5 separate regions of the Homo sapiens genome follow, and regions 1, 3, 4 and 5 are each linked to region 2. Evidence: promoter capture Hi-C in 16 types of primary human blood cells and fetal thymus (Javierre and others, 2016). All regions are on one chromosome and are shown on one strand. Each heading gives the region's core, a stretch centred on a gene start or on the middle of the fragment in contact. The rest is flanking DNA. Distances are from core to core; before and after follow the strand shown.

Region 1 (5,246 bases), core at 878-3,377, 1.2 Mb before region 2:
GAAAATATTGGAGGCCTTTTTCAAGGAAAAAGGGGAAAACAGATATTGGTTGACAAATAGCAGTCTCTGCCATACTGTCCCTGGATACATGTCTTTGAGTGAATGTCCCTTATTTACCATTCTGATTACTTGTTGGATATTTTCAATATGTGTTACAATATGGTTCCAAAATTGTATGTGATATTCCAACAGCAAGTTGGATGCAATGTGTCATAAAAATGACCTCAGTGTCAACCAGCATTTGAATACCGTGTCTCAATGCTGTGCACCAATAAAGAACACAGAAAGTCAGAGTTTTCCATAAATAATTCCTGAGAATATATGCTTATTTTGTTTGAGAAGCATCGTGAGGTATCTGCTGTGTGCTTTAGGGTTGAATGGAAAGTTGGCAAAAGTATTAAAAGACATGTTCAGGCCGGGTGTGGTGGCTCACGCCTGTGATCCCAGCACTTTGGGAGGCCGAGGTGGGCGGATCACTTGAGGTCAGGAGTTCAAGACCAGCCTGGCCAACATGGTGAAACTCTGTCTCTACTAAAAATACAAAAATTAGCTGGGTGTGGTGGCAGGCACCTGCAATCCCAGCTACTTGGGAGGATGAAGCTGAGGCACAATAATCTCTTGAACCTGGGAGGCAGAGGTTGCAGTGAGCTGAGATCACGCCACTGCACTCCAGCCTGGGCAACAGAACGAGACTCTGTCTCACCAAAAAAAAAAAAAAAAAAAAAAAAAAAAAAAAGATGTTCAAATAGACATGATATTGGTAAAAACGAAAACACAGGTAATGACTTTTCATTCTAATGAAATATAAATAGAGAAACCTGCCGGTTTTACCCTTTAGAGTAAAAAGGGTACAAAAAAATTACCAAAACAGTAAAAATTACCAAAAGAGTAATTTGATAATTTCTACAGGGTGATGTGTATGTGTCACAACTTTGTGAATCACTATTCTGGGCATGTATAAGAAGTCGTCATATACCTCCATTGGGAATGTTATTTAATGATGTCACTAATACCAGACAAGGATGTCTCCTCAGGTAAGGCTCCTTGGAGGAGGCAGAGGTTGAGAAGAGGTGTAATTTAGGTTTTAAAAATTCAATAGCTGGACTTAACCTTGCATATCTCTACCTGTTATAACGGTGGTCCGGAAGGCTGCGATCTGAAGGCCCCTCAGCTAGTTGCTGCCACTGTGGGCACTCTGCGCATCTTTCACTTCTGAGCTCTTTCTGTATGCACTCTGTTCTGCAGATAAGTGAGAATGTGACTATTTGCTTAGTCAGTGACAGTGTCTCTAACCCTGGAAAGGAAGCTTTTACTCTCTCAGTTTTAGAGACATGTGAACAGGCTGGGGATATGAGGTCACTTACCCACTGTCTTATAATCAGCAGATGGCATGGTTGGCATTGGAGTTTAGGTCTGTCTGTGCTTTTCTGTACATTACATCCTTTTTAATGATGCGAAGGAAAAATGCAGTAGGGTCAATGAGACAAATGGAATGCAGGTTGCTGGGGAAAGAATGCAGGTTCTGCGTTATAAATGCACACACATTTACTGTGCCACTTGGGTTCTGAACTTTGCGGTTAAATTGATTTAAAAACTGGTGTAGAGGTGGTAAAACTTAATCACCGAATGAGAATATTTGGGTTTGCTTCAGGAGGTCGCAAGCCACTTCTTGATTAGTAGAAATGGGAAATTAAGGGCCACCTTCAGGCGTTTAACTGAATTGTCCTGGGGATTTAATTTGCCTTTCGACTTAATGCTAAATTTTTGTTGTTTTTGGTTTTTAAAGTAATGTAAGTTTATCGCGCCAACGGTAAGATGTCGCTCTGGACGCGTGCACCTGCTCTCGCAATCACCGACTGCGGTCAGCATCTTCCTTAGAGCAGCGCCCCGGGCCACTTGGATCCCGGTCTCAATTTACTAAGCGAACCCAGAGGATGCCCCGAGTCCTGGACCGCAGAGCCGCTCGCGAGAGGCACCGGGGCTGTAACCGCGCAACCTCGTGCCGCGGGCGGAGGCGAGGGAGGATTCCCCGGCCGGTGCCCGCCCCCGGGCTAAAGTGCGGCGCGGGTGGGGCTGGTCACGCGCCTGGCTTCCTGCAGTGCGAACCTGGGAAATCCAGGCGACTTCGCAGTTGCCGAAGGGATCTGAAGAAGTGGGATGTGCAAAAGCGCCGGCTGGAAATCCCGGCTGTGTCTCCGTCAACTCTTTACGCAACAGAGGTCTCCCCCTGCCCTTGGTTTCTACCGGGCCGCCTGCTCCCACTCGGCGAAAAAAATTACACAACAGCAGCCGCGGCGATGACGTGGAGGGCTGCCGCCTCCACGTGCGCGGCGCTCCTGATTCTGCTGTGGGCGCTGACGACCGAAGGTAGGGGGCGGCTGGGGTGGGCTGGGGCGGGGGCTCCTGGCGCCAGAGGGTCCTCGCGGGTCGGCTCCCTAGCATCCCGCCAGGGGACCTCAACTTCCTGGGGGCTGAGAGCTCTATTTTCTTTTCTATTTCTTCTCCTTTTTTTTTTTTTTTTTTTTTGAGACGGAGTCTCGCTCTGTCTCCCAGGCTGGAGTGAAGTGGCGCGATCTCGGCTCACTGCAAGCTCCGCCTCCCAGGTTCACGCCATTCTCCTGCCTCAGACTCCCGAGTAGCTGGGACCACAGGCGCCCGCCACCATGCCCGGCTAATTTTTTGTACTTTTAGTAGAGACGGGGTTTCACAGTGTTAGCCAAGATGGTCTCCTTGACCTAGTGATCCAGCCGCCTCGGCCTCCCAAAGTGCGGGGATTACAGGCGTGAGCCCCCGCGCCCGGCCTGGGGGCTCTATTTTCAAGCGTCCCTCCTTTGTGAGAAGCGGAGTCCCCGATGCAACAGGTTTACATTGAAGGCCTGCCCTGTGCAGGGTCGACACCTGTGAGAGCGGAAACGGTGCTTCCTTGGATGTCGCGCGTTTGGTGCCTCGGTATTTGGCGCCTCTCTCGCATCATCCGAGGGGCCGGAGGAGAGAAGAAAATCAGGGAATCGGTAAATTGGAAAAATCATTCATCCGCATATCAGTGGGTCCTCCTGGCTTTGCTAAGTTAGGTCTTTACTGAGAGAGGGAGGGGAGTGTTTTGATCTTGTGGTGACCTTCAAACGTTCTCTTGCTTTTTTGGGAACTCGTATGGGCGTGTTCTGCGTTAACTTAAACAGGAGACTAAAAGGCTGAAACGCGTATGTAGAGATATTTAAACTCATTTCTAACTAGAAGAATGGCAATTAAACAACAAGATGCTGCTTGACCCTTACTAGGCTGGCCAAAATACGCTCCTGGGTGCCGGGTGGTGGAGGTGGAATGTAGGAATCCCGGAGGCGCGCTCTGGGCGCCCCGAGTCACTGCAGGTGGAGGAGAGCCGCGTGTGGACCTCACCGTGGAGACCTTGGCGGCAGCTTCACACCACGCCCTTGCTGCTTGCCGAGCAGCGTGAACGGATGTTGAAGGCGTAGAGCCAAGTAAACAGTGGACATACAATGCAATACCATTTCCACAGTTTGAGAAACAGAAGATACAGCCTTAAAGAGAACAAAAATTACATGTTAAACACCTTAGAATGGCTGCCCGATGGGAGAGGGAAGTGGAAATAAAAACGAGTGAATAGTATTTCTATACATTTGCAATAAGCAATGTGAAAATAAGACAGTTCCGAGTGAAGTGTGGGCGGTGAAGTGGAAAGCCAAAATTGCGCTTGTCTCCGCGCTGCGGACTTGAAACGCCTGTCACTGCGGTCTGGAAACGCCTGTCGCTGCGGTCTGGAAACGCCTCCGCGCTCTATCAGTCTGGGTCTCCTCGAGCTCGAAGTGGCGCCAGTGGGCTGCCGCCGCGCCCACCCGGTCCCATGCCCGTCCCGCGCCCCCTCCCGGGCCCGGCGCCCCCTCCTCAGGGGCCTTGGGTCCCCGCCACTTTCGTCCGGTCTCGGTCCCCGCGGATGCTGGTGGTGGTGGAGAAGGGCCGCGAGTTCTCAGGGAAGCGGAGAGGGAGGAACGCCGTTTGGCTGTGCGGCGGCGCCCAGTGACGGCAGCAGCAGCAGCAGCTCCTGGAGGAAGCTAGTTCCGGCTCGTCCAGCCACGAGGAGCGCGGCGGCGGCTGCATGAGGGTCGGACCCCAGAACCAGGCGTTGGTGCTGGACTTTGGCACCGGAAGAGACTGTGAAATGGAAAACCGTTTCGGAAGCTTTCGCCTAACAAATCATTTCCGCCTACAAGAAATTCCTACACCTTAGGATGGAGCATCTGTTTGCCTGGCTGCTATTCTGCGTGGAAGCAAATTTAAAGTGGTACAAGAAAAAAAAAATCCAGTCATACAAAGGAATTCGTCAGATTTTAATGCAAGAGATTCTAGCCCGTCTTTGTATGAGAATGTCTTTAAAGGTTGTTGATATAGAAAATGTTTTAAAGAACGTTAGGTTTTATTTCAGAAATGAAGTTGAAAAGAGCAATTTGTAAAGCTGTAGTTAACAGTCCTCCCTAGTTGGAGAGCTCTAGAACTGGAGGTTCTCTATGTAGGTTATACCACTAGTTGATTTGAAAAGATAAATGCATAAATGCTTTTCCTTGGAAACAAGACTGCAGAAAATTCCAAGGATCTAGTCCTTGAAAAAGGCGAATGCTGTTAAGCTGTTAAGGTACTACACTCTGTACCTTTAAATGAAAATACATGGAGGTCCTGGGTGAGCGCTTGGGCGCTCTGAAAATAGACGAGGTTTCCCAAATTTGCCTTCTAAATTTTGATTTGTTGATTTAAATCTTCTAAATTTATGTAGTCTGGCACTCAGGTTTGTATTCCTTTTAAGCACATGTTAGTGTTTTTGATATTTTCCCTTCTCCCTCCGACCCCCCAATTCTTCTTCTTTTTTTTTTTTTTTTTTTTTTTTTTTTGGTAGTCACTTTTCGTTTTTAAGAGTGACAATACAACTAGGTGGCCTGGCTGTTTCATATCCTTGGTTTCTCCATTTCTTGGTTGGCCACCAGGGGGAAGCATACTGTTTTTTTGGTTACAGTTGACCCTATCTTCATTTTGTAGGTCAAGTCTGTTTTTGCTTTGATACATAGAACAGAAAGCTTGTCACCGCGTTTCCCTAATGTATTATTTTAAAAAATAGACTTGCACAAATCTTTGAGTAAGTTGGCAGGTTTTTGGATACATTTTTGTTAACATTAATTTTGAAAACTTTATTTAGATATGTTGGATGTGACTAATGAAAGGACATGTTTGATGGCAAC
Region 2 (5,826 bases), core at 1,704-4,203:
CTATGTTGCCCAGGCTGATCCTGAACTCCTGGCCTCAAGTGGATTCTCCCATCTCTACCTCCCAAAGTATTGGGATTACAGGCATGAGCCACCACACCAGGCCCACAGTTTTCTTCTACTCATTTAGCAGTGACTGTGCCTCTAGAAATGCTGTAGATAAACTATGTAAAAATATAAGTGGCTGTATGTATGAAACATCTAAAGTGGGAAGTTGTTTCTGTAAAAGAAGAAGGACTAATCTGGTATAAATATATCTGTTAATTGCAAAAATAACAGAGAAAGGTGTTGAAAGTTATGTTGAAGTTGGGAGCTAAGATAATGCTCAAGGGAAAAAAAGACCTTTTATAATAAACACATAAAACATAAGGCAGGTGGCCAGAGTACCATGATGTGTGTGGAGAGCCTACAATCAGATAAAGAGAAAACAATAATGACCTTCACCCTAGCTATGTGTTCAGGGTCCTGGCTAACAATTCTTACATCAGACCACACCAGCTGAAAGGAAAACATTTGAAGCCCTTCTTTAGGAGGAAGGAGCCCCACAACTGCTTCTATTACTTTACTTCCTATTCTTACCTGTCTAAAATTCATAGGTTGGACAGTACTAATGCTGATGCTCAGAATCGTCATAATCACATACAGGAGTCTCAATTTTCCAGATATTGAGTCAAGGACCAAAAGGCAGGTAGGATGCCCTCTCCCACCTCTTCCCTACCTCTGTTTTTGTTTCTAAAGTAATCACAGGTTGGGTGGAGGGGAAGGCAGGTAGAGGTATAAAATATCTTCTGAACATGCCTTGCCTTTGTCTTTGATGGCAGGTTTCTCTAGGGAAGCTTAGGAAACTTAATTAGGGTATAAAAAATAAGCTAATATTTGAATATTCTTGCTCTTTATATGAATATACATACATTAAGGAATAAATCTTTTTTTTTTTTTTTTTGAGATGGAGTCTTGCTCAGCCACCCAGGCTGGAGTGCAGTGGCCTGATCTCGACTCACTGCAACCACCGTCTCCCAGGTTCAAGCGATTCTCCCATCTCAGCCTCCCGAGTAGGCTGGGATTACAGGCACCCGCCATCATGCCCGGCTAATTTTTGTATTTTAGGAGACGGGGTTTCACCATGTTGATCAGGCTGGTCTTGAACTCGTGACCTCAGGTGATCCACCCGCCTTGGCCTCCCAAAGTGCTAGGATTACAGGCGTAAGCCACTGCGCCCAGCCCAAGGACTAAATCTTAATGACTATGCTATCAATTTAAAGATCAAAAATGTCATGGAGGCCAGGTGTGGTGGCTCACGCCTGTATTCCCATCATTTTGGGAAGCCAAAGCGGTGGATCACTGAGGTCTGGAGTTTAAGACCAGCCTGGCCAACATGGTGAAATCCCGTCTCTACTAAAAATACAACAATCAGCTGTGTGAAGTGGTGGGCACCTGTAATCCCCAGCTACTTGGGAGGCTAAGGCAGGAGAATCGCTTGAACCTGGGAGGCGGAGATTGCAGTGAGCCAAGATCGTGCCACTGCACTCCAGCCTGGGTGACAGAGCAAGACTCTAAAAAAAAAAAAAAAAAAAAAAGAGTCATGGAACAGATACTCTTCAGTTACATACTATGTAAAACAATATACCGTTTTTTTCAAAAAGTGATATATAAAAGTTACAACATGGATCTTTACCTGGGTCACAATCTTCTATGGCTTCCCATATGTCTTCTATAACTAAGGATAACAAGTTTATCAAAACAAAACCAAGAAGCCTAAAATATACGATTACACAACCAATATATGCTTTATTTTGAAAGCTGTCATTTTCTCCTTAGAGATTATTTGGTCTTCAATCAAGAACTATGGGGGCGATTTAACTGGAAAAAGTCTGTTTTTAAAAAAGTTTTACACATAATAGTGTGTTTTATTAAAAATTGAAACCGCTTAAACCGCTGATTGCTACCATTCTTGCTTTGACAAAACTATCCCAAGCTAACACGTTGAACTGGTCAAGACTCAACTCTCAATCATTTTACATAGTTTTGGAAAATTACAACAAAACATAACAAAAGCCATTCCACTCTGGTGTGAGGTGCCACGTTTGAAGTAATTATATAAATAAATCATGGCTTTAAAATACAAAATGCTTAACTGCTTTTTTAAAAATTGAAAAAAAAAACACTAGTCTTGAGCCGTGAAGATCATAAATTAAGCTCAAAGCAAATAAATACGCGTTATAAGAAGCATACACTTAAAAGTAGTTACTCTTAGAAAATCCCTGAAATGGTAATGGTATGTATTTCACCTGGGGCAGTAAGGGACTGGTATTTTCGCTTCTTTTCTGGAGAATACAAAACTGAAAAGGCCACACTCTCTGCGGGTCGGCAAAAGAAAGGCTAAGACTGGAGGATCCCTAGATTGGGACAGGAGTAGAGGATTGCCTCAGATCTACAACTAAGTATGATCCCTTGTTTGTGTTTATAAAAACAAACGAAAAACTACACTGCCCCACAGACAGCTCCAAACTCAGTGGAAGAGAGGAGGGCGGGTGGGCGGCAGGTGTCAGGTAGCCTCCGCTCCACGCCTTTGTTGACTGTCGCCGTCCCCCACCCTCCCAGCTCCCGTACGGGGATTCCCGCACCAGGCGACAGGCGCCTCGGGGCGGGGTTCTGAGGAGGTCGCTAAGGACTGCACCGGGGCTTCCGGCCCGTCTGGGAAGCTTGCTTGGCTGGGCCGGGACGGACTCGACAGGGCGCGGAAGGGAGCGGTGGGCGCGCCCTGGGAGGCGAGCGCGTCGCAGCCTCACCTTGGACACCATTTTCTTGAGCTGGCTCTCCGACACCGCCATGACGGCCGCCTGGCGACTCCCTTCCCCGCAGGCAGAGGGTCAGCCGCTGCTGGGCTGCCCCAGACCGTCCCACACAATCGCACACCCCCAACCCGGCCTCAAACAACAGGAAGTCGGCACCACTACACCACTTCCGCTTCCACTACGTCACTTCCGGGCCGCCGTCCTGCGGGCAAGGGTGGACACCGTGTGGGATTGAGAGGGGCCTGGTGGGGTGGGTTCCAACCAACCCGCCCCTCGAGTGCCGGAATCAGCAGGACGAATCGGGTCCCAAAGATGTGGGCAAGACTGTTCCGAGGGTCGAAACTCTGGTTCAGGATAAGATTAGCAGGTATTTCACAGAGTCGACTTAAGGAAGCTAGTGCCGGAGAGGGAAGAAGTACGAAGGGCTTGCCAGTGAGCCTTAATGACTGATTGATCAAGTGGGAGGGCACTGCACTGGCGGTCAGAGAACTGTTCTGTCACTGACTTGCTCTTGTGATAATGGTAGGCTAGTGCATTTCTAGCTCAGGCGCAAATTTCTCCCGACTCTAAAGTCATACACTTGCCTTAGATGATGCCCAGTGGTCCTCTAATTAATGATTTTTTTTAAGCTTAAAGACCTTCATACTATACGTTGGCAAGGGTAAAGTGTAGAGCCTTTGTTTCACAAGAAGCCAGATAGTAATTTCTTCTCCAGGAAATCATTCCGTAAGTCAGAATTTCTCCTCTGTACCCACCCATAAATGATAATACAGGCCGTATTTTACCTGGTGCTGTATTTGTGTACCTGTCCGCTGTCAAAATCCAAGCCCTTGAAGGCAGGCTTCCTTCAGATCTTCATTGCCTTGCACAATGCAAGGGTAGGTACTTCCATCTTAATTGAATTTTTACTTCCCATAAAAATTCTTCATGGTGACTTACATTAGTCATCATTACACATCACCGTCAGTTTTGTAAGCACAGTGTCATTCAAGGTATTGTAAAATTTTGAGTTTGATGATGTGTGACAGTTTCAATTATTTTAGTACAGCCCTAATGAGAACAAGGCCGTAGTATTGATTCCCTTCAAAGTTGGCGTCTAAGTGAAGGTCACATTCACAAGGAGGGCCTAACTGAAAGCATGTGGAAGCATCATTATAAACTGTTGCTAACACGCACAAATAAAGGCTATTAATAGGTATTGTTTTTCTTTTTCTTTTTCTTTTTTTTTTTTTTTTGAGTCACTCTCACTCCATCGCCCAGGCTGGAGTGCAGTAGCACCATCTCGGCTCACTGCAACCTCCGCCTCTGTTTTTCAGCTCCTTAGTTAAGCATACAGCTCCAGTCAAACCAAACTAGAGGTCTGTCTGTCCTTCCATTTTACTTGCTGTTTTATGTCTTTTAAAAGCAAGAAGGTTTTCAAACTGTTCTTAAAGCCACGGCTTAACCAGGAGTCCCTTTAATTAGAGCAACTGTACCTTTGTGAGTTGGAGGAATGCCAGGTAATATATATTATTTATATATTTTATAAATGCAACATTTATAAATATTAAAATAAATTTTACATATATATATATATATATATATATATATATATATATTTTTTTTTTTTTTTTTTTTTTTTTTTTTTGAGACAGAGTTTTGCTCTTGCTTCCCAGGCTGGAGTGCGATAGTGTGATCTTGGCTCACTGCAACCTCTGCCTCCCGGGTTCAAGCGATTCTCCTGCCTAAGCCTCCCGAGTAGCTGGGATTACAGGTGCCCACCACCACACCCAGCTAATTTTTTGTATTTTTAGTAGAGACAGGATTTCACTATGTTGGCCAGGCTGGTCTGGAACTCTTGACCTCAGGTGATCCACCCGCCTCAGCCTGCCAGAATGTTGGGATTACAGGCGTAAGCCACTGCGCCCAGCCCATTTATATATTTTTGTTGCCCAGGTCATGGTGCAGTGATGTGAACATGGCCCACTGCAGCCTCGACCTCCCTGGCTCAAGTGATCCTCCTGCCTCAGCCTCCCATGTATATTGGGACCACATGCGTGTGCCACCATGCCCAGCTAATTTTTAATTTCTTTGTAAAGATGAGGTCTTACTTTGTTGCCCAGGCTGGCCTCAGAACTCCTGGGCTCAGGTGATCCTCCCACCTTAGCCTCCCAAAGTGCTGGGATTACAGGTGTGAGTCACTGTGCCCAGCAATATATTGTTTAAAAAAGCTTTCTTGCTGCATGTTTACTATCAGTCTTTTGCAATCTTTTAGGGTCAACACTATACCTCAATATAAAGTGTTAACTTCTTATCTATTTCATTGGAACCATGGAGGATTGAATGTGTGTGGGGAAAATGTCTTTGTGGTTTTAGAAATATGCAAAATCAGTTAATTTTTTAATGTGAAGGTAATAGTAGTTGAAATGCTTTTGAAAGTTGCTTGCCATTTCAACACTAAAGATGAGTTTTTTTCCACTCATTAGGCATTTTGATTTCTATCCTCACGTATATTAGTGGAGAATTTTAAATCCTCCGATTATCACAGATGAAAACACAAATAAGCTGATGGTGCACCTGCAGTCCCAGCTACTCCATTGGCTGAGGCAGGAGGATTACTTGAGCCCAAAAGTTTGAGTCCAGCCTGGGCAATATAGTGAGAACCTGGCTCAAAAACAAAAAGATTTAAAAAGTTTTCTTGCTAAAAATAATTTTTAAAAGTTTGAAAATGATAAAATCTAGTCTCTTCATTTTACACAAAATAACTAAATATCCTGGGTACTGTGTGAATTATATGAAAAAAATTCCTTAATCTGAATGTTTCACTTAATAAATGAAGCATCTCCTGGTGATTTTAAAATCAGTTTATTTTACTCATTATTCTTAATATTTAAGGAAAACAATGTAAAATGGGAAAAAATGTATCTTCTGCTACATCAAAAAAGCATTTTAATCCAAACCCCACTAAAAATTATAACAAGCTCTGCATGATTTCATAAAAATGAAAACATGAAAGTTAACAAGCATTGAAAATGCCAAATTATCACAAAATCAT
Region 3 (5,596 bases), core at 2,332-4,831, 1.3 Mb before region 2:
AGCCTGGGTTACAGAGCGATATTCTATCTAAAAAATAAAAATAAAAAATAAGCCTTGAAAACCCCTCCCTAGGCCTGGTGTGGTGGCTCATGCCTGTCATCCCAGCACTTCAGGAGGCCGAGGCAGGCAGATCATGAGGTCAAAAGATTGAGACCATCCTGGCCAACATGGTGAAACCCCATCTCTACTAAAAATACAAAAATTAGCCGGGCGTGGTGACGTGTGCCTGTAATCCCAGCTACTTGAGAAGCTGAGGCAGGAGAATCACTTGAGCCTGGGAGGCAGAGGTTGCAGTGAGCCAAGATCGCACCACTGCACTACAGCCTGGTGAAAGAACGTGACTCCGTCTCAAAAAAAAAAAAAAAAAAGAAAAAAGAAAAAAAAAAAGAAAAGCTTTCCCTAAACCTACGTTTTATGTTCCCTTAGCTAAGTTTTCCCTTAAGTTGTTCTCTGTGCATTGAAATAACACTATCCTTAACACCTCATCATCTTCTTCTTCCTATAGTAAGGATTTACAATCTAAACTCTTTACTCAAAAATCTTGTCTAATTAACTCTTATCTATTTTCCATTTGACTATATTATCCCTTACATCTTTTCTTTCCCGTAACAAATTTTTTTAAATAACTGAAGTACTTTTTGCTACATGGATTGTAGTTAGTTGGTCTCTCCTAGTTGGAATATAAACTTCCCAAAGGCAGGAAGTAACTATTTCTTTATACACTCCAAAAATCTGGTTTGTACTATGTATCTAAACACTCAAATGCCATATGAAGAGATTCAATGAAAAGAATACTGGGGCCCGGGGCGGTGGCCCACACCTGTAATCCCAGCACTTTGGGAGGCAGAGGCGGGCAGATCGCCTTAGGTCAGGAGTTCAAGACCAGCCTGGCCAAAATGGTGAAACCCCATCTCTACCAAAAATACAAAAATTATCCGGGCATGGTGGCATGCACCTGTAATCCCAGCTACTCGGGAGGCTGAGGCAAGAGAATCACTTGAACCCAGGAGGCGGAGGTTGCAGTGAGCTGAGATTGCGCCATTGTACTCCAGCCTGGGCGACAAGAGTGAGACTTCATCTCCAGAAAAAAAAAAAAAAAAGAAAGAAGGAAGAAAAGAAAAGAATACTGGGGTGGACGTGGTGGCTTATGCCTGTAATCTCAGCGCTTTAGGAGGCCAAGGTGGGCCCAGGGGTTCAAGACCAGCCTGGACAATGTGGCAAAACCCCTCCTCTACAAAAAACACAAAAATTAGCCAGGCGTGATGGCACGTGCTTGTAGTCCCAGCTACTTGGGTGGCTAAGGTGGGAGAATCACCCAAGTGTGGGAGGCAGAGGTTGCAGTAGGCTGAGATGGAGCCACTGCACTCCAGCCTGAGCGACACAGAGAGAACCTCCCTCAAAAAAAAAAAAGAACAGAACACTGGGCCTAGCATTGTTAAGACCTGAATTCAAGCAATGCTTCTAATTTATTATGCTAAGTAAGTCACAACATCTTTGGGCCTCAGCAAAATCAGAATACTTGCTGTATTTACCTCACAGGTAATAAGGTCTTGGAGGGAAAACAGTGTTAGCTAAGCTATAACCATCAGTCAATCCAAGTGTAAAGATGTATTATTGTCAGTCATAGCTATCTTGTCTAAAATTAGCCACTAGTGTTTTTTAACCAAGCTCAGTGCACAGCAAATTAAGTGCACCAACATTGCACATCAGTCATATCAATAATGTAACTGTTATACTGTAATACTAACAGAAAGCCTTATGTTTAACAGTAAGCATGTTAATTATACACTATCTTAATGCAGTCTCAAGGTTAAAAGATAAATACTTGTTGCTAAGCCAACAATAACTGCCTTCAAATCTATTAAAAGAGGATTTATAAATCCCATTTGTTTTTGTACCCAAATAGCTAAGTTTAAAATTTTAAGAAATCCAAGAATTAGTTTAAAATTGTATAAATTCTCCTTTTAACTTTCTAAAATGTCCATATGCACTCTCATTGTGTTTTAAATCCATTACATTAGAAAAACAGACTGCAGGCCGAGTGCAGTGGCTCATGCCTGTAATCCCAGCAGTTTGGGAGGCCAAGATGGGAGGATCGCTTGAGGCCAGGAGTTCAAGACCAGCCTGGTCAACATAGTGAGACACCATCTCTATTAGAAAAAAAAAAGAAGAAAGAAAAAAAGAAATAACATACTGTAGAAAAAAAGGATACAAAGTATACATAAATGAACAAAATAAAGATAACAAAAATATGACTCCACTACAGATGCAGAGAAAACAAAGACATTTCTTCTCATCCCAACCATAATCCTATGAACAACCTGAAAGATACTTACAGCAATATTTGCAAGTATGACCATAATTCTCATCAAAAGAACATCATATATGAGTACCATCAAAATGATTACAAATTATAAATTACCAGTGATAATTTTCTCATTGGAGTCCCTTTTCCTTTTTCAAGCAGAGAACCAAGACAGAATAGCCTCTAGATCTTTTTTGTGGTGGTGGTTGTTTTTTGAGACAGTGTCTCACTCTGTTACCCAAGCTGGAGTGCAGTGGTGATCATAGCTCACTGCAGCCTCAAACTCCTAGGCTCAAGAGATCCTCCTGCTGGCAGGGTACAGTGGCTCACGCCTGTAATCCCAGCACTTTGGGAGGCCGAGGCGGGCAGATCACAAGGTCAGGAGATTGAGACCATCCTGGCTAACACCGTGAAACCCTGTCTCTACTAAAATAATATAAAAAATTAGCTGGGCGTGGTGGCGGGCGCCTGTAGTCCCAGCTACTCGGGAGGCTGAGGCAGGAGACTGGTGTGAACCTGGGAGGCGGAGCTTGCAGTGAGCGGAGATCACGCCACTGCACTCCAGCCTTGGCGACAGAGCGAGACTCCGTCTCAAAGAAAAAAAAAAAAAAGAGAGATCCTCCTGCCTCGATCCTCCAAAGCACTGGACTATGGGCATGCATTAATGCACCCAGCCTCTAGATCTATACTGTCCAATATGGCAGTTACTAGTTACATGGAGCTATTAAGTGCCTGAAATGTGGCTGTTCCAAATTGAGATGTACCAAGTGTAACATACACCAGATTTAAAAGATTTAGGGGAAAAAAATAATGTAAAATCTCCTACCTATGTGACTCCCATTTTTGGCTCACATATTTCTCATGTACAGCACTGCTTTATATATGTAGTCGAATCCTGAATAAGGAAAATGGATACCAGAAGTATTAAGCAGTTTGCTCAATATCTCACCGCTTGATAGAAGCAGAGCAGGGCCTAGAACCTGATCACGTTTATCCATCCTGCCCTTATGAATAGAAGGAATTAATCATTTAAGACTCAACTTGAGCATCCTCTTCCTCCTCAAACCCCCTCATTCCTTTTCCATCTCCCAGCCCAGGTGACCATATCCTATTTAGCCTGCCCTTATAATTATACTGTTATAAAATGTACGTTGTCTTCCAAATGGATGAGAAATTCTTGAGAGCAAGCACTGTCTCATTCATTTTTCTTATCCCTGGGAACCTTTGAAGTACCAGGCACTCTTTCAGGCCCTCCGGCACTCTCAGAGCTTTGAGAGGGTTAATTTTTAGCCCTATGCAGGTACAACTACTAAAATGAAATCACCTACAATGTGATGCACCACCAGAAACATCCACATTTATCATTTGCCTGTCTTAAATTATTTTTGGAATATGCTAAATTAATACAATGCATAGGCCAGGCGCAGTGGCTCACACCTGTAATCCCAGTACTTTGGGAGGGCGAGGCGGGCGGATCACTTGAGGTCAGGAGTTCAAGACCAGCTTGACCAACATGGTGAAACCCCGTCTCTACCAAAATACAAAACTTAGGTGGGTGTGGTGGTGTGCACCTGTAATCCCAGCTACTTGGGAGGCTGAGGCAGGAGGATTGCTTGAACCCAGAAGGCAAAAGTTTCAGTGAGCTGAGATCACGCCACTGCACTCCAGCCTGGGTGACGGAGTGAGACTGTCTCAAAAAAGAAAAAAAGAGCCGGGCAGGGTAGCTCAAGCCTGTAATCCCAGCACTTTGGGAGGCCGAGGTGGGCAGATCACAAGGCCAAGAGCTCAAGACCATCCTGGCCAACCAACATGGTGAAACCCCGTCTCTACTAAAAATACAAAAATTAGCTGGGCATAGCGGCACACGCCTGTAGTCCCAGCTCCTCGGGAGGCTGAGGCAGGAGAGTCACTTGAACCCGGCAGGTGGAGGTTGCAGTGAGCCAAGATCGTGCCACTGCACTCCAGCCTCGTCAACAGAGTGAGACTCCATCTCAAAAAAAAAAAAAAAAAAAAAAAAAAGAATAATTCATGTTATCAAAGAAAAACAAGTTACAAAAAATGCTTTGCACTACTGCTGCTCTGATGCTCTATAAGAACTCTGAGTTCTCAGGAAATTCAACACTCTTTAGGTATAAGTTCACTTATTGAATGTGCTTACTTAAATGCAAAACTTTGTGCTACAGAAAGAGTCCTGGACATGGGAATTAATGCAAGCAATCTTCAATTAATTGAAAATTTTAGAACTATTAATTGCAGAAGAAACAAACTTAGTATACAGTTATTCATTACAAAAAGTTAGTTTCTAAAATTCCTCAATGCAAACATGCCAGCTTTTGTATTCTATAAAACAGAAAAAACTGCCAGGTGCAGTGGCTCAAGTCTTTAATCCCAGCACTTTGGGAGGCCAAGACGGGCAGATCACTTGAGGTCAGGAGTTCGAGACTAGCCTGGTCAACATAGTGTAAACCAGTCTCTATTGAAAAAACACAAAAATGAGCCATGTGTGGTGGCGCGTGCCTGTAATTCCAGCTACTCAGGAGGCTGAGGCAGGAGAATCACTTGAACCCTGGAGGTGGAGGTTGCAGTGAGCTCTCGTGCCACTGCACTCCAGCCTAGGCGACAGAGCGAGATTCAAACAGAAAAAAATTGTAAAACCTGTGATGAAAACATTAAAACATGTTATTTGCAAAGAAAACTGCAGGAAACACGCATATAAAACACAAATAGCAAGACACTTTGATAAGAAAAAACCTACTTTAGAATGTATTAATTCAGCCAAAATTACGGAATTTATGGAAGAAACTCCATATGTGCTTTCTACCTACGTAAAATCACTTTTGAACTAAATCTGAGTTAACAAATAAAATCTCTCTATTCCCAGTTACATTGTTTTTCAGTATGTAACCACTGTCTTGATACTAAACAAATATCTTATATAAAAATAAAATCTGTATACTTCAACTAGGGTCCTTTCGTCTAATTTGCTGCTGTGAATAAGAGCACCATCCTGTCCAGATAAGGTTAGATCAAATTTAAAAAAAAAAAAAGCACCATTCTGCTGGGCATGGTAGACCAGCCTGGGCGACACAGTGAGACCCCATGTCAATTAAAAAAAAAAAAAAGAGCACCAACCCCAACTATGGCAGAGCTGCTAAAGGAGTCTCTTGTGGAGACTTGAACCACAAGCCAAGGAGGCAAAGGTACAAAGTCTCTCCTGGAATTAGTTCCTGGACTTCTGTGCAGCCTTCCCTCTTTCTACTATGTCTTCACCGTTCCCCTACAAACAGCTTT
Region 4 (5,448 bases), core at 2,549-5,048, 1.3 Mb before region 2:
AACAGAAATAAAAGCTATTGGACATCTCCTCACTAGGACTTTATTTTTATTTATTTATTTATTTATTTATTTATTTATTTTGGGTTTTTTATTTTTTATTTTTGGTGTTTTTTTTGTTTTGTTTTTTGAGATGGAGTCTCGCTCTTGTTGCCCAGGCTGGAGTGTAGTAGGGTGATCTCAGCTCACTGCAACCTCTGCCTCCCAGAGTTCAAGTGATTCTCCTGTCTCACCCTCCTGAATAGCTGGGACTACAGGTGCTCAGCACCACGCCTGGTTAATTTTTGTGTTTTTAGTAGAGACTGGGTTTCACCATGTTGGCCAGGCTGATCTCCAACTCCTGACCTCAGGTGATCTGCCCGCCTCGGCCTCCCAAAGTGCTGGAATTACAGGCGTAAGCCACCGCATCTGGCCACCTTTCTAGCACTTCACATGTATCATTGGAATCCTTAAAGTTAGTTCGGCATTATTATCCCCAGGTTACAGGTGGAGAAACGGAGACCAATATATTATTAGACATTAATAAAGCACTTTGCACCGGGCACCCTCTGCTTTACAAATATAAACTCATTTAATCCTTACCACAACTATAGGAAGCTTGAACTATTGTTGCCTGCATTTTACAAGTGGGAAAGCTGTGCTTTGAAGAGCGGGGTTAAGTGACTTGCTGGAGGACATTAGCTAATATGGATGGAGCTGGGTTTTTAATCCAGGTGGACGGGTTTCATTGTTCACGCTCTTAACCACTATACCTCCCAGATTCACTCTTTCCAGACTTGAACAACTACTCTCTAGAAAATGCACCAGGCCTAGAGTTAGGGAACTAACTCAAAACTGGGCACATGTAATAAGCAGTAGAGCCAGGGTTGGGGTCCAATTCTGACGCTAAAGCTTGTGTATTTTCCCTTGTCCAAGGTAGTGATTATGTTCTTAATTAGTATTATAGAACAGTTGGAATACACAAGGTAGTGACTATGGTTTCTGTTGTTGTTGTTGTTGTTGTTGCTTTTTGTTTTTTTTTGAGACAGAATCTCACTCTGTTGTCCAGGCTGGAGTGCAATGGCATGATCTTGGCTCACTGCAACCTCCGTGTCCTGGGTTCAAGCGATTCTCCTGCCTTAGCCTCCTAAGTAGCTGGGGTTACAGACATGCACCACCATGTCCCACTAATTTTTTTGTATTTTTAGTAGAATGGGGTTTCACCATGTTGGTCAGGCTGCTTTCAGACTCCTGACCTCAAGTGATCCACCTGCCTAGGCCTCCCAAAGTGCTGGGATTATAGGTGTGAGCCACCGCGCCTGGCCCATGTTCTTTAGACATCTTTCCCACCAGGAGATTCTCTGTCAGTGCTAAACCTTCAAGTTTTAGTTTTACTTACTGTTATTATCTCACCACATAGGTTCATTTTATTGAGCTGAAAGCTTACAAAAAGTCCACTGGTCCCTGCCCTGCCCGTGTTACACTCATTCCTTCCCATGCACACTCTTGAGGATCCACAAGTGCTTCCACATAACTGGTTTCCCCCAACAAAGCACAAAGGGTGGTGCTTCAAAAGCATCCGTTGTTCCTAGCAGCAAGACTTTCAATGCTGGGGTTTTATTTATTCTTTTTCTTTTCTTTCTTTCTTTTTTTTCTTTTTTTTTTTTTTCTGAGACAGAGTCTCACTCTGTTGCCCAGGCTGGAGTGTGCAGTGGCATGATCTCGGCTCACTGCAACCTCAGCCTCCCGGGTTCAAACAATTCTCCTGCCTCAGCCTACCAAGTAGCTGAGACTACAGGCGTGCACTACCACACCCAGCTAATTTTTTTGTATTTGAAGTAGAGACGGGGTTTCACCATGTTGGCCAGGCTGGTCTTGAACTCCTGACCTCAGGTGATCTGCCCGCCTTGGCCTCCCAAAGTGCTGGGATTACAGGCATGAGTCACTGTGCCTGGCCACTTTTTATCTTTGAAAGTGTTTTATTTCAATAGTTTTTGGGGTACAGGTAGGTTTTGGTTACATGGATAAGTTCTTCAGTGGTCATTTCTGAGATTTTAGTGCACCCGGTTCCCCAGCAGTATACACTGTACCCAATATGTAGTCTTTTATTCCTCACCCTTCTCCCAACCTTACCTTCTGAGTCCCCAAAGTCTATTATATAATTCTACCTTTGTGTCCTCACAGCTTAGCTCCCACTTATAAGTGAGAACATATGATAATTGGTTTTCCATTCCTGAGTTACTTTACTTGGAATAATGGCCTCCAGCTCCATCCAAGTTGGTGCAAAATACATTATTTTGTTCCTTTTTATGAATCAGTAGTGTTCCATAGTGTATATATAACACATTTTCTTTGTGTACTTGTTGGTTGCTGGGCACTTAGGTTCGTTCCATGTCTTTGCACTTGAGAATTGTGCTGCTATAAACATGCATGTGCAAGTATCTTTTTCATATGATGACTTCTTTCCCTTTGGGTAGATACCCAATAGAGGGATTGCTGAATTGAATGGTAGTTCTACTTTCAGTTATTTAAGGAATCTCCATACTGTTTTCCATAGAGGTTGTACTAATTTACATTCCCAAGAGCAGTGTAAAAGTGTTCCCTTTTCACCACATCCATGCCAACATCTATTGTTTTTTGACTTTTTTTTTTTTTTTTTTTTGAGGCAGGATCTCACTCGGTCACCCAGGCTGGAGTGCAGTGGCGTGATCTCAGCTCACTGCAACCTCCGCCACTCGGGTTCAAGCAATTCTCCTACCACAACCTCCCCAGTAGCTGGGAGTACAGGCATCCACCACCACACCCGGCTAATTTTTGTACTTTTAGTAAAGATAGGGTTTCACCATGTTGGCCAGGCTGGTCTTGACCTCCTGGCCTCAAGTGATGACCAGCCTCAGCCTTCAAAGTGCTGGGATTACAGGTGTGAGCCATCGTGGCTGGCCATTTTTCTTTATTCTATTCCAGTGGTCTGTGTTCCTGTTTTTATGTCAGTGCCATGATGTTTTGGTAACTATAGCCTTTTTTTTTTTTTTTGAAACGAAGTCTCGCTCTTGTCCCCCAGGCTAGAGTGCAATGGCATGATCTCGACTCACTGCAACCTCCGCCTCCTGGGTTCAAGCAATTCTCCTGCCTTAGCCTCCTGAGTAGCTGGGATTACAGGCGCCTGCCACCACACCTGGCTAATTTTTGTATTTTTAGTAGAGACGGGGTTTCACCATGTTGGCCAGGCTGGTCTCGAACTCCTGACCTCAGGTGATCCACCCGCCTTGGCCTCCCAAAGTGCTGGGATTACAGGCGTGAGCCACCATGCCCGGCAGCAACTGTAGTCTTGTAGTATAGTTTGAAGTTGGGTAAGGTGATGCCTCCAGATTTGTTCTTTTTGCTTAGTCTTGCTTTGGCTATGCGGCTCTTTTCTTGTTCCATATGAATTTTAGGATTTTTTTCTCCAGTTCTGTGAAGAATGATGATTGTATTTTGATGGGAATTGTATGGAATCTGTAGATTGCTTTTGGCAGTGTTGTGGGATGTGTTTCCATTTGTTCCAGAAGGGAGTATAACTGCCTCTGCTGCACATGAGTTCACAAAGGGAGTGGGGAGTAGCAGGCAGCAGCAAGCCTCACCCAGCTCCCATGCAGTTGGCAAGGCTGGTCTTGCTCCATCAGTGCCCTGTTAGCAGCACTGAGTTTAGATCCAGGCAGTCTGTGCACACTGTGACCTGAAACCACAGCTTTCAGGTCATGCCCTTCCCTTTCTGCTGGTAAGCTGAACACCCAGCATGTATGCTTGTGTCTCCTGCACACTTCTCGCTTGCCCACTGGTTTCTGCTCAAGGGAGTTCATCCCCACTCCAGATTATATCATAAAATTCAGTTGGGAGCTTCTTTCACCTTGGGACCCCTCCCTCAGTTTGTTGGCTGGCTTCCCTGAGGGCCCCTGTAAGATACAGTCAGGAATGGCTTCCCTCCATTCACAATAGAGACTGGGAATGCCTACGAGGCACTTCCCACTACTGCTTCTACGTTTATTTATTTCACGCCACTCCCTAAATCCATTCCGGCTCTGGGGAGGGTTAAAGCCTTCTCCTGTGGACTAGAGGTTCAGATTCCCTGGTAGGAATGTGTGCTTGGAGGAAGACTCTCCCCCTCTCACACTCTGGGAATTGACAGTTTTTCACCTGTCTCACAGAGTACGCTGCAGCCTGCTGCATCTTTCAAAGGGTCTGTGGATTCTTTCCCAGCTAATTTATAAAAAGCTCTTTTTGTAGAGACAGGCGTAGGCCAGGTGCAGTAACTCATGCCTGTAATCCCAGCATTTTGGGAGGCTGAGGTGGGAGGATTGCTTGATGCCAGGAGTTCAAGACTAGCTGGGCAACATAGTGAGACCCTATCTCTAAAAGAAAAGCGGGGAAAAGAGGGTTTTAGTTGACTGAAACCAGGACAAACATAAAGAAGGTCTCCCATTCAATTTATCTGGTTCTAAAAGCAGCTTTTTCCAATTGTGCACACGAATGAACTGTTTTAGACAAGACAGGGTCTTGCTATACTGCCCAGGCTGAAACACAGTGGCTCTTCACAGGCGTGATCCCACTACTGATCAGGAAAGGAGTTTTTGACCTGCTCTGTTTCCAACCTGGACCAGTTCATGCCTCCTTAGGCAAGCTGGTGGTACTGAGACGGGAGGCAGAACTCAACTCTGGAGGCAGGGCTTGGTCACCAGACCAAATTGAGAACTAGCTGAAACAGGTTTGGAACAGAAGCACCTCCCCATAAGACACGCCCACCACTGTGCCATGTCAGTTTACCATTGCCATGACAACACCCTGAAGTTATGGCCCCTTTCTGTGGCAATGACCTGACAACTTGGAGGATGCCACCCTCATTCTAGAAATTTCTGCATAAACTGCCCATTAATTTGCATATACTTAAAAGTGGGTATAGGGCCAGACACAGTGGCTCATGCCTAGAATCCCAGCACTTTAGGAGGCCGAAGTGGGTGGACTGCTTGAGGTCAGGAGTTCGAGACCAGCCTGACCAACATGGTGAAACCCCGTCTCTACTAAAAATACAAAAATTAGCCGGAGTGGTGGCGGGTGCCTGTAATCCCATTTACTTAGGAGGCTGAAGCAGAAGAACCACTTGAACCCAGGAGGTGGAGACTGTAGTGAGCTGAGACTATACCACTGCACTCCAGCCTGGGTGACAAAGTGAGACTCTGTCTCAAAATAAATAAATAAAAATAAAAATAAAATAAAATCAGTATAAACAGGAATGCAGAACTGCCTCTGAGTTGCTGCTCTGGGCACACTGCCTACAGGGTAGCCCTGCTCTGCAAGGAGCAGTAGCTCTGCTGCTGCCGGGTACTGCGGCTTCAATAAAAGTTGCTGTTTAACACCACCAGCTCACGCTTGAATTCTTTACTGGGTGAAGCCAAGAATCCTCAATTTTGGCGCTTTCCTGTCCTGCATCAGTCTCCT
Region 5 (5,075 bases), core at 575-3,074, 1.4 Mb before region 2:
ATGTTGGAAAACCATCATCACAGTGAGCTTGCTGGAATACAGATGACCAAAGGGATTAATGAGATTCCACAGCTAACATTTACTGAGAACTCTGGTCAGATATTCTTCTAAAAACTTTACACGTTATTTCTTTTAAACCTCTAATGAGCTCTGACTACTTACAATCTATGACATATTTTCTTTTGATGTGTCATACCTCCAATTAGACTACAAGCTCCAGGAGTACAGATATTTTGCACCCCCCTCCCCCTTTTAAGAGGTGGGATCAGGTGGTGTGGCTCACGCCTGTAATCCCAGCACTTTGGGAGGCCGAGGCAGTGGATCATCTGAGGTCAGGAGTCTGAGACCAGCCTGGCCAACATGGTGAAACCTCGTCTCTACTAAAAATACAAAAATTAGCCGGGCGTGGTGGTGCGGCCTGTAGTCTCAGCTACTCCAGAGGCAGAGGCAGGAGAATTGCTTGCTTGAACCCAGGAGGCGGAGGTTGCAGTGAGCCGAGATCATACCACTGCACTCCAGCCTGGGTGACAAAGTGAGAATCGGTCTCAAACAAAAACACACAAATTAGCTGGGCCTGCTGGCGGGCGCCTGTAATCCCACCTATTCGGGAGGCTGAGGCAGGAGAATCGCTTGAATCCAGGAGGTGGAGGTTGCAGTGAGCTGAGATCGCGCCACTGCACTCCAGACTGGGCGACAAGAGCAAGACTGTCTCAAAAAAAAAAAAAAAAAGAGGTGGGGTCTCTCTGTCACCCAGGAGTGCAGTGGCTTCATCATAGCTCACTGCAGCCTGGGACTTCTAGGCTCTGGTGATCCTCTCACCTCTGCATCCCAAGTATCTGGGACTACAGGCACATTGCGGCTGGCTTTTTTGGGCGGGGGAGTCGGAGAGTAGTATGTTCTCAGGCCCCAGAACCATGTTCAGCACATAGAAGGTAAACATTTGCTGAATGAAGCCACTTGCACGAAGTCACACGCAGCTGAGATTCAAACCACACCTAACTGTGAGGAACTGTGTCAGGCACTCTGCTTAGCCAATTCCAACTCCTCCACTTGACAGCTGTGTGATTTGGGGCTGGTTAGTATCCAGCGGCAGTGTGCCTCTGCTTCCTCAACTGTAAACTGGGGTGAAAGCCATGAAGATTTATTTCAAAGTATTGTGGTCAGAATTAAACGAAATCAGTACATGTGAAGTGCTTACAATGATGCCTCTAGCACGGTGGCGAGACCAGAGTTTTGGCTATTTTTAAAATAACTTTACCACCTACTAGATCCTACAAGTCACACGAGGACAGGCGAAATAGGCTATGTTAGACACAAACACTCACCGATCTGTGAAGGAGTAAGGCCCTTCTTGGCCAGTTTGTAAATCTGCTCCTTCACGTCGTCAGATGTCAACTTCAACCACTGTTATGGAATAGAAAGCAGCCTTAGGATGAGAACCCAGGAATGGCGCCGCAGAACAGCGGTCTCTCCTTCCGCAAAACCGCGCTCCTCATACACGCAAGTTCCTCACCCTGGCGTCGCTTCACCCGAGACAAATGCCAACCCCCTCCCCGGATTCTCCCCGGTCCCAGCGCGCTACTTACAGTGGGGACGCTGCGTCGATAGGGTAAAGCCGACTGGGACAGGCCCTTCCTGGGGAGAGAAGCAGTCTCGAGGTGAGGTGGCGGCTAGTGCCAGAGCAGCCCAGAACATCATCCCCTCGGCCCGCTGCCCACACTCCCTGTCTTCCTCCCACCCCCCGCCCAGCAATCCGGCTTGATGCCCCGAGCTCACCCGGGAGCATGCATGCGACCCATGATGGCGGCGATCAGGCAACGAAAGGAGAGCGAGAGTGGAAACGCCGCAGGAAGCCACCCAACACGCAGGAAGTGACCTCACACGTCCCCGCTTCCTCTCACGCAGGAGGCGGAGCTACGCTGCGCAGCCACCGCCCGTCTGTGTGACTACATCTCCCGAAATGCATTTCAGCGTCGCAAGAGATCGTCAATCCAGCCTCATCCCGGCATGCATCGGTCTTTGGTCAGCCTTGTTGCCAGAGCGGGAATTTGAGGCTGACGCCAGCTTGCGTCGAAATTCCCTGTGGACGCCGAGATCACAAAGATTCGAATGCTGCGCTGGGGGTGGGTATGGAGCAGGTAGGGCTGGAAGAAGCAGCCATACACAGGTGTTTGCTCATTCACCAGTGCCTGGCTTTGTCCTGGCACTAGATCCCTCAGAGTCGGCCCTGCGCCTAATAAATTAACAGATACAATAGCATGTGATGAGGACCACACGGGAAGCCATGGCAGCGGCTACCGCCCAGCCAGCGCTTCCATTTCTCATTTCTAAATCCTACCCTAATCTGTCAGGGGAGAGTCGCTGACGGTGAAGAACCGGTCTAAGGAGTTGAACCAGGTCCCCACGGATGCCTGCCGCCCTCCGCACTCGAATTCCCCTGCGCAGGGCTCTGGGGCGCTGGGCTCGCCGGGGAGAAGGGTTGGGCAGAGGCTTACGGAGCTATGTTCCCAAGTGAGAGAGTTGGCGGGCAGGGAAGAGCCTTGGGAGCAAGACTGCAAAGGCCAAGAGGATGAGGGATAAAATGAAGCATTTGAATTTCATGGGAAAAGGGAACCGTCAAGGAAGAAGCTTTTTTTTTTTTTTGAGACGGAGTTTCGCTCTTGATTCGCAGGCTGGAGTGCAATGGCGCGATCTCGGCTTGCCGCACCCTCCGCCTCCCGGCTTCAAGCGATTCTCCTGCCTCAGCCTCCTGAATAGCTGGGATCACAGGCATGCGCCACCACTTCCAGCTAATTTTGTATTTTTAGTAGAGACGGGTTTTTCCATGTTGGTCAGGCTGGTCTTAAATTCCCGACCTCAGGTGATCCGCCCGCCTCGGCCTCCCAAAGTGCTGGGATTACAGGCGTGAGCCACCGCGCCTGGCCGGAAGAAGCTCTTTTAAGACAGACCTAGCCTGGGCAACATGGCGAAACCCCCTCTCTATAAATACAAAGAATTAGCCGGGCGTGCTCGCTCGTGCCTTTGGTTCCAGCTACGAAGGAGGCTGAGGTGGAGAATCTCTGGAGCCGGGAAGGACATTGCGGTGAGCCGAGATAGCACCACTGCGCGCCAGCCTGGGCAACAGAGCAAGACTCTGTCTTAAAAAAAAAAAAAAAAAAGGAAAGAAAGAAAAAGACTGACTCAGTGCCGGTACACAACAATGCGTTGAAAGAATGGGCAAATGAAGCAGCTTCTTAAAATTTTAAAAAGTAAGCATAGCTCTAGGAAGGAGGGAGGTCAGTGAAATCAAACTCCTGTCGACAAGCTTAAAGTAACTGGCAAGACGCTGGGAAACTAGATACTGAAACATCCGCTCTTAACTTTTAACCTGTCACTATTTGAAATAAAGTTATCAGGGATAGCCGGGCGCGGTGGCTCACGCCTGTAATCCCAGCACTTTGGGAGGCTGAGGCGGGCGGATCACGAGATCAAGAGATCGAGACCATCCTGGCTAACACGGTGAAACCCCGTCTCTACTAAAAATACAAAAAAATTAGACGGGCGTGGTGGCGGGCGCCTGTAGTCCCAGCTACTCAGGAGGCTGAGGCAGGAGAATGGCGTGAACCCGGGAGGCGGAGCTTGCAGTAAGCCACGATCGCACCACTGCACTCCAGCCTAGGTGGCAGAGCGAGACTCCGTCTCAAAAAAAAAGTATCAGGGATAAAGAGAGAACCCTTTATAACAACAAACGGGTCAGTTCTCCAAGAAAACAACACCCCTCCCCCCCAAAAAAGCCATAATCTGTCACTATTTGATTAATAACTTTTCCCAAAGCATTAGGAATTTTAGTCAAATCGGGTACCCTATTTGGGTAATGTTTTTTTCTAGCAAAGTTTATCATTAGCCAATTTTACATTTTTAGTTCAGATATGGAATAGGTATCTCAAATTTAATATGACTCCAATTCCCAAACCATGCCCCTTTGTTTCAGTTAAACACGATCCTGTTTGCTCAAACTTAATACAAACCTAGGCATCTCCGTTTTTCTCTGATTTCCCTCTGTCATCCCAGCTCTACCACAAGAATGTATCATGAATATGTTCCCTTTGCCCCATTTCCACCTTCAGTCCCAGCCACCATCACCTCCTATCTGGGCAACTCTGTAGTATCCACACCGTCTGGTCACGTCCCCACTCTAAACACAACCCACTCTCCACCTAGCAGTCAGAGTGATCCATTAAATACATAAAGCAGATTAATTCATTGCTCCCCTGTGTAAATCCCTCCCATACTTTCTCAATGCACCTAAGATCCAATCCCTGGACCCACGTCTTGCCACTATCCCCCGATTCTAAACGCTCTAACCGCACTTACTCCTTTCTGACTCTACAAGGTAGCAATGTGTTCCTTTCCTGCTTAGAGCCCTTCCTCTTGCTGTTGGCACTGCCTGAAGTGCTTGCTCTTCCTCAAGACCTTTTCAGGTCTCACTTTCACATCCTGGCCTCCATGTCATCTCAGGGTGGCTTTCCCTAAATAGGATCATCTAAAGTAGTCCTTCTTCCCAACACAATATCCTATTGATTACTTTCAAAGCACCCAAATCTCTAACATCCTTTCTAGTTGCTTGTTTGGTTGCCTGTCCACCTCCAATAAAAATTAGCTCTGAGAGTACAACGTTTATTGCTTTATCTCCAACACCCACAAGAGTGCCTGGCGGGAAGTTAGGTACTCAGTAATTATTTGAAAGAATGAACCTAAATAATGTCATTTTTCCCCCTTTGTAGATGTCTAGATTGTAGACTTTATTTCAGGAAGATGATGGGAATAGTAGATTTAGCAATCTAGTCCCAGATTACAGGATGTCTGTGTGTAATTTGGGTTGTCAGTTAGTTATACATGAAGATTTTTGTTTTTGTTTTTTGAGAGAGTCTCGTTCTGTCACCCAGGCTGGAGTGCAGTGGCCTGATCTTGGCTCACTGCAACCTGCACCTCCCGAGTTCAAGAGATTCTCCTGCCTCAGCCTCCCGAGTAGCTGGGACTACTGGCACCCGCCACCACGCCCGGCCAATTTTTGTATTTTAGTAGAGATGGGGGTT

What was found. The method cuts DNA at HindIII sites, captures the fragments that hold promoters and counts their contacts. A CHiCAGO score of 5 or more calls a contact.
Region 1: a contact is called between the fragment with the promoter of NCR3LG1 here and the fragment with the promoter of TSG101 in region 2, in 1 of 17 cell types (fetal thymus). The highest score is 7.4, in fetal thymus.
Region 3: a fragment that was not itself captured here is called in contact with the fragment with the promoter of TSG101 in region 2 in 1 of 17 cell types (fetal thymus); the score reaches 5.0 in fetal thymus.
Region 4: a fragment that was not itself captured here is called in contact with the fragment with the promoter of TSG101 in region 2 in 1 of 17 cell types (fetal thymus); the score reaches 5.9 in fetal thymus.
Region 5: the fragment with the promoter of RPS13 here is called in contact with the fragment with the promoter of TSG101 in region 2 in 6 of 17 cell types (fetal thymus, naive CD8 T cells, total B cells and 3 more); the score reaches 13.6 in fetal thymus.

Annotation. Positions count from the first base shown.
Region 1 is chr11:17,349,673-17,354,918 of GRCh38, forward strand. NCR3LG1 (natural killer cell cytotoxicity receptor 3 ligand 1) reads left to right here and starts at 2,128. Exons shown (of 5, transcript NM_001202439.3): 1 at 2,128-2,367. The coding sequence starts at 2,298. It overlaps LOC105376576 (a long non-coding RNA gene), which reads right to left and starts at 2,194. Exons shown (of 3, transcript XR_931094.3): 1 at 2,107-2,194; 2 at 1,365-1,502; 3 at 1,141-1,239. It also overlaps a transcript of NUCB2 not described here. RefSeq lists a silencer at 1,950-2,069 and enhancers at 2,066-2,667, 2,668-3,269, 3,494-3,543. The HindIII fragment of the contact is 2,891 bases long and covers 1,305-4,195 here.
Region 2 is chr11:18,523,989-18,529,814 of GRCh38, forward strand. TSG101 (tumor susceptibility 101) reads right to left here and starts at 2,954. Exons shown (of 10, transcript NM_006292.4): 1 at 2,787-2,954. The coding sequence starts at 2,828. It overlaps UEVLD (UEV and lactate/malate dehyrogenase domains), which reads right to left. Exons shown (of 12, transcript NM_001040697.4): 12 at 5,621-5,826. RefSeq lists an enhancer at 3,114-3,223. The HindIII fragment of the contact is 722 bases long and covers 2,698-3,419 here.
Region 3 is chr11:17,201,176-17,206,771 of GRCh38, forward strand. All of the region lies in intron 1 of PIK3C2A (phosphatidylinositol-4-phosphate 3-kinase catalytic subunit type 2 alpha), which reads right to left. Among named protein-coding and RNA genes, the nearest start is that of PIK3C2A, 4.0 kb to the right of the region's middle. RefSeq lists an enhancer at 735-1,236. The HindIII fragment of the contact is 6,380 bases long and covers 392-5,596 here.
Region 4 is chr11:17,269,363-17,274,810 of GRCh38, forward strand. No RefSeq gene overlaps it. Among named protein-coding and RNA genes, the nearest start is that of NUCB2, 4.7 kb to the right of the region's middle. The HindIII fragment of the contact is 4,765 bases long and covers 1,417-5,448 here.
Region 5 is chr11:17,075,843-17,080,917 of GRCh38, forward strand. It overlaps RPS13 (ribosomal protein S13), which reads right to left and starts at 1,825. Exons shown (of 6, transcript NM_001017.3): 1 at 1,777-1,825; 2 at 1,587-1,635; 3 at 1,326-1,404. The coding sequence starts at 1,799. SNORD14B (small nucleolar RNA, C/D box 14B) reads right to left here and starts at 26; the gene lies at 1-26. RefSeq lists an enhancer at 1,859-2,058. The HindIII fragment of the contact is 8,959 bases long and covers 1-2,626 here.